Linked DNA regions of Homo sapiens: region 1 is linked to region 2. The links are contacts of gene promoters, found by promoter capture Hi-C in human tissues and cell types (Jung and others, 2019). All regions are on one chromosome and are shown on one strand. The core of a region is centred on a gene start or on the middle of the fragment in contact, and the rest is flanking DNA. Distances in the headings are between cores, read along the strand shown.

Region 1 (2,700 bases), core at 6-2,505, 430 kb after region 2:
CATGTCTGCTCTCTAGCCTTGAATTCCAGTCTTACTTTCACTCAACAAAAGAAGAATAACAACTAATAAAAATTGCTTAGACTTTCTATGTGTGTACAATTTTGTATACATTCTCATTTAAACCCATGCAACAAACCTATGATATAGGGGTTTCAAAGGAAATGGAAGCTTAGAGGGATTAAGTAACTTGCCCAAGTTTTCACAGCTAATAAGTGGCTAAGCTAGAATTCAAACCCACTTTTAGGAGCTCTATCTTTGCATGCTTTTCTTTGGTGTGCACTGACTCCTTTTCCTGTATCGCGCATCTAATCGTGGTCTGACACATGGTCCCATCCTGAATATCTGTATTTATCACCGGGCTTTAGAAGTTCATAGTGTTAATAAGACATAAAGAGATTTCAGTCACTGGGTATTGGGGGAATTCTTGCAGGTGGAGGATCTCTCAGGATTGTGCAAATACTGCCACACAAGTCCCACCAACCCCACCCCAGCCAACCAACCATGTGCCTCACTGACTAGGTCAGAGCTCGTTAAGACTCATCTTCCCTTTTCTTCAGTCCCAGAAAGAAATGGGACTAAAGCCTTTATAGAAAATAAAGCCATCCCTCCCTGCAAAAGGACCCTGAGCTGGATTTTTGAGAGTCCAGAAAGCTTTTTGTATAAGAAATGTGATTTTTAAAAACCTGACAGGTAGGCATCCTTCCAGCTTTCTGTGGCTTACCAACGGCCCCTAGTGGCCAGTGGCTCCAAGTGCCACGAGCTGTAAGTCTTGGCTTCTTTGGTGCTAGCTGCATGCCCTGCAGAGTTCTATTGCACTGCATTAATTCCTGATCAACATATTTTGCAGTATTGGGACAGAAAAAATGATGAAGTCTAAAACTCTGGGCAAAGAAAGCATTATAATGGGTGATCAAAGCTATAAAATTGGCAGGCTTTCACGAAGGCCTCTCCCTTTTTAACATTCCAGACCACACACTTATGCAGTAGCCAATATTGTTATCTCTATGAGGTTCAGAGAGGCTGCTATGTAAACTAGGCTACACACTGGTTAGCAGGAAAGAACACCCGGGTTTGTGTGCGCACCGGTCTATGTAAACACAGGCTCTAACATTTGTCAGGCATGTCTAAAGCAGCATGTAGGTTGTTTATTGGCAAAGCAGTCATCTGGTTTTGGGAAATAATGGCAGCTACGATTTAAGATTCACTCTGTGCCAGGCACATGATAAATGCTCTTATGTGAAATATCTCATTCACTCTTCATAGCCACCACTGTGCAAGATAAACACCTCCAATTTGCAAATGAGAATTCAGTCTCAGCAAGGTCAAAACTGCCCGAGGTCACATAGCTGAAGTGGAAGAGCTGGAAATTAGGGCCCAGGTTCTTTGAATCCAAAGCAATAGCTTTCATTTACCTTAATACATAGCATGTGTGTTCTCCTTCAAGCAAATCGAAGTTGTTAGTCTTTAGCACACACTCACCAGAATCATTCTCTTCCTGTCTCCTAACCCGGCTGTATGCTGGTGAGCGTTCTGGCTGATAAGAGCTCAGGGACTGTTGGCTGGGTGCGGTGGCTCACGCCTGTAATCCCAGCACTTTGGGAGGTTGAGGTGGGCAGATCATCTGGGAGGCTGAGGTGGGCAGGAGTTTGAGACCAGCCTGGCGAACATGTCGAAACCCTGTCTCTACTAAAAACACAAAAATTAGTCAGATGTGGTTGTTACATGCACCTGTAATCCCAGCTACTTGGGAGGCTGAGGTAGGAGAATTGCTTGAACCCGGGAGGTGGAGGTTGCAGTGAGCCAAGATCATGCCACTGCACTCCAGCCTGGGTGACAGAGCGAGACTCCATCTCAGAAAAAAAAAAAAAAGGAGCTCAGCAACTGTGGACGTCTGTTGGCCAGTGCCCCTCTCAACATAAGACTTTATACCTGGGAGACTATTTTGTGTGTGCCCAATGTGCTCAGAAATCCTCTCTAACTGCTGTGGGGTGTGGGTGGCTGCTTTGGAAGGGTCATTGGCAACTCACTCATTTCCTGGAGACTTGGAGGGTTTTAGTTAGGGAGGCATGTGGACACTGCTGAGTCTAGTGGTCATTAGGCAGGCTTTGGAGTCAGGAGACATTAGGAGTTACTAAACCATTCAAGACTCAGTTTCCCAATCCATAAAATGAATCTTGTGGGGTTGTGGTAAGAGTTAAATAGGACAATACATAGGATATTCTTAACATAGCACCTGTCACAGAGTGCCTTGCTAATGTGTTCATGTGTGAGGGACACACTGTGACTCGATATAGCTCCCTGGGAAGGTTTCAACAGCAGCACTAACCACTGAGAGACCTGGCCCCTTGTCAGGTGTCAGCAGATGAGATTAGGTTTTGTTTCCCTTGAAACACAAATCAGTTAACTTACGGGTTGAAGCAAAACCAACATACTGATGGAAAAAAGCCAGAAGCAAAGAAATCCCTCTCCTAGGGATAAACAGGTGGAGTGAAATAGTGACAAAGTCTTTATTGGGAGCCACATCCCCCAAATCCCTTGCCAGGAGAGTATTGACTTTTGGTAGGAACAGGGGACAGAGCCATGAAGGAATGAATTTGCCTCAAAAGGAATTGCCATGACTTAATGGCTTTATTGAATCCTTGGTTTTTAGCCCATTGATTCCCATTTACTTTAATTCAGAGCTATGTAGGAGCTGCACCA
Region 2 (2,823 bases), core at 66-2,565:
GAATTTATCATAGCCATCTCTGAAGATGGTATGATTCACACACTTACTAAAGGACTATCTATTTCAATGCTTCTTAAAGAGGTGATTTTTCACTTTTCACTTCTACTAACATAAGAAAGACAAGTCTTCAGGCAGAAAATTTTAACCTGAGAGACAGTGGATGGGATAACTCAGCTGTTGAGTCAAATATAAGCATAAATTTAAAAACAAAGCAAATGAAGATTGCTCATGAGTTCAGGATCTGCAGCTAACAGAGTTTGGAAAGGTGGGTTGGGGAAAGAGGCAGTCAAAGTTTCAAAAGGGAAATGTTTCCCAGTATGTTCCTAAATAGATCCACTCTGCACCCAAGTTCAGGGCTTTACACACTGAGGTTATAATACTATTGTTTCCAAGCACTCAGCCTTAGTAATCCCCCTCCCTCTTCGCAGAAAAAGAAAACAACAGCAAAAAAGGACAGAAAATGAAATGATCTGTGTCCAGCGAGTTTGAGTGCAACCTTCCCCGTCACCGCTAGTTGTCACTTGGCTCCCAGACGGGAAAGCTGAGGTTTTCGGCACTGCGGTTAGGGAGAATGCAGTCCTAATTAAACTGAGTAACTCCTAAAGCTTCCCTTTAAAGTCCTCAGCCGAGTGAAAGCCAACATGCAGTGGGGCTGGGGACCAATAGTGGGGGGTGTAGCAGACAGAAGGACAAACAAACCGTAAGAAACAGGCAAACAGCTGCCAGAACAGCGACTGTCTCAGACCTCCACGCACAAGCCAGACACCCTGCGGGCGGGGGTGGGGTGGGTGGCGGGGGGTGGGAGGGGGGAGAAGGGAGACGGGGGATGGAAGGACCCGATTGCAGTGGAATACAGCACCCCTCTTCCCCAAAATGATGGGACCACGGACAGAGGTAGCCTCCGTACTCTTTCCCCCCATTTCCATCAGAGCGATGTGGTCAGTAGAAAATTGCATACCTGAAGAATACAATGGTCTCCCAAAGGTAGAGTCGAAGAGTATTGAAGCTGTACATTTTTCAGGTCCTTGTGCTTTGTAGTCCACGAGTTATGGGGGCAAAAATGTTTCAAATTGGCACTTACAAAACCAGAAAGCGCTATTGCAAAAAATAATCCAGATGTTAAAGGGAGGCGGGGAACAGGGGCGCGGAGGGAGAGCCCCAGGGGAAATTGGAGCGAGGGGGTCGTAGATACCACGGACAGCGGCGGCTGCGAGGCGTTTCAGCACCACGGAGAGCGTCCAGACCTGCTTTTCAGGAGCGCGAAGAGTATTGCTGTTTGTTAAACTCCAGCGTGTCTGTTGGCTCCCTGCGGCGCTGGGGAGGCACGTTTGGGGGTGGGTATATTTCCTTTTTTTTTTTTTTTTTTTTAAACCCCTGTTTTTCTGTTTAAACGGCCAGCTCCCTGCAAGGAAAAAAATCTTCTGTGGAGATCAGAGCGCTGGCCTCGGACCGTTGGATTGGGCGAGCATCTTGGGTAAAGAGAACAGAGCTTTATGGCTCTGGGCCGGCCTGAGGGGGTTAGGGGCGAGGGGAAAGCGGTTGACGGCGCTGCCTTCAGTTAAATCTCGGAGAGTGTGCCAGGCTGGCGCATCGCAATCCAGTCTCGGAATCTCGTTCTCCTGCCTCTGTGCGGGTCTGCTGTCGCCTTGCTATTCCTGTTTCCCGGTCCCCGCCGAATAAGTTGTGATCACTGCAGAAAAGGTGTCCCATTGCTCGGGGCCGCAGGCGTCAGAGAGCCCAGGGCAAGTTTCAGGGGCTACCGGGGTCCCTGGCTACCCCGCGGGGCTCTGAAGCCCAATGTCTCAGATGCATCTCGGTTTTCTGAGCTCGCTCATCTTCCCTTGGTCAAGACTCCTTCAGATCTTCAGACTTTCTTACTGCATTAATTTAACAAACTGGAGGCGTGGGGGATGGGAGGGGTGATAGCCGATGGGAGGGGGTTGAGGGGGAAAAAAAAAGGGGGAAAACTCCTTAGTATCTTCAAACCCTCCCACTCGAGGTGTTCATTGGCCCGCGGCTACGAAAACCAGATCTTCTCCCGGTATTCGGCCAATAGCCTGTTAGACTCCGGGTTGAATTTAACGCTTAGAGTGCTGGACGAGATCTGCGCAATCCCCTTCCTACCCCCAAGCTTCTTTCCGTGTAAGCGGTGGGGTGAGAGAGGATATGGAATTAATCTCTCTAGGTCTCTCAAAAGGTTGCCTTGATTTTTAAAGAATGCAGTTGTATGTGAGTAAAACACATGGTTCCTTGTTAAGACGTGCTCTGGGCTCAATTTATCCTTTTAAAAGGGAAGAGTTGAACCAGATCCCTGATTTTTTTTAAAAGAGCTCTGAAGTTATAATATTTGGCCCTAGAAAGAAAGGAGGAATATCCAAAAAGAAGTCTGGTGGATAAAGACCCCCTCCAGGGTCACCGCAGCAGGGAAATACGAGAGAAATTCTTTGAGCAGTTTCCAGCGTTGAGTGGGAGGTGTTGTGGCTGGCACCCTTTTGAGAGGGAATAAAAGCACCTTCTTCCAACTGGACAGGAGACAGTTTTATTCGCCTTTTATATGCTGGGGAAACTGAGCCTCACAGAGCTGTGGCTTGCTCCAAATTGATGGCAGAGCCAAGTTGTACACACAGGGATGTGTTATGACTCACATTTCGTTATTTCTTCCTCTGTTTTCCCACCTTATTTGAATCTTAGAAACCAGCTATACATTTCACTGTAAAGCCCATCTGGTGAGATGGAGTTAATCAGATTTTCCCCAAGCTGTGGGACTATAGGATAAATACTTTAAAGGATTTTCTGGCTGATTTGAACTCATTGGGACTCTGG

What was found. The method cuts DNA at HindIII sites, captures the fragments that hold promoters and counts their contacts. A contact is called where the count stands out against the background at its distance.
Region 1: a fragment that was not itself captured here is called in contact with the fragment with the promoter of GLRA1 in region 2 in 1 of the 25 tissues and cell types used here (H1 embryonic stem cells).

The regions. Positions count from the first base shown.
Region 1 is chr5:152,349,126-152,351,825 of GRCh38, forward strand. All of the region lies in intron 1 of LOC105378237 (a long non-coding RNA gene), which reads left to right. Among named protein-coding and RNA genes, the nearest start is that of NMUR2, 55 kb to the right of the region's middle. RefSeq lists a silencer at 712-811, an enhancer at 1,484-1,653 and a cis regulatory region at 1,569. The HindIII fragment of the contact is 3,466 bases long and covers 1-2,700 here.
Region 2 is chr5:151,923,536-151,926,358 of GRCh38, forward strand. GLRA1 (glycine receptor alpha 1) reads right to left here and starts at 1,316. Exons shown (of 9, transcript NM_000171.4): 1 at 959-1,316. The coding sequence starts at 1,014. RefSeq lists a silencer at 1,596-1,808. The HindIII fragment of the contact is 3,327 bases long and covers 121-2,823 here.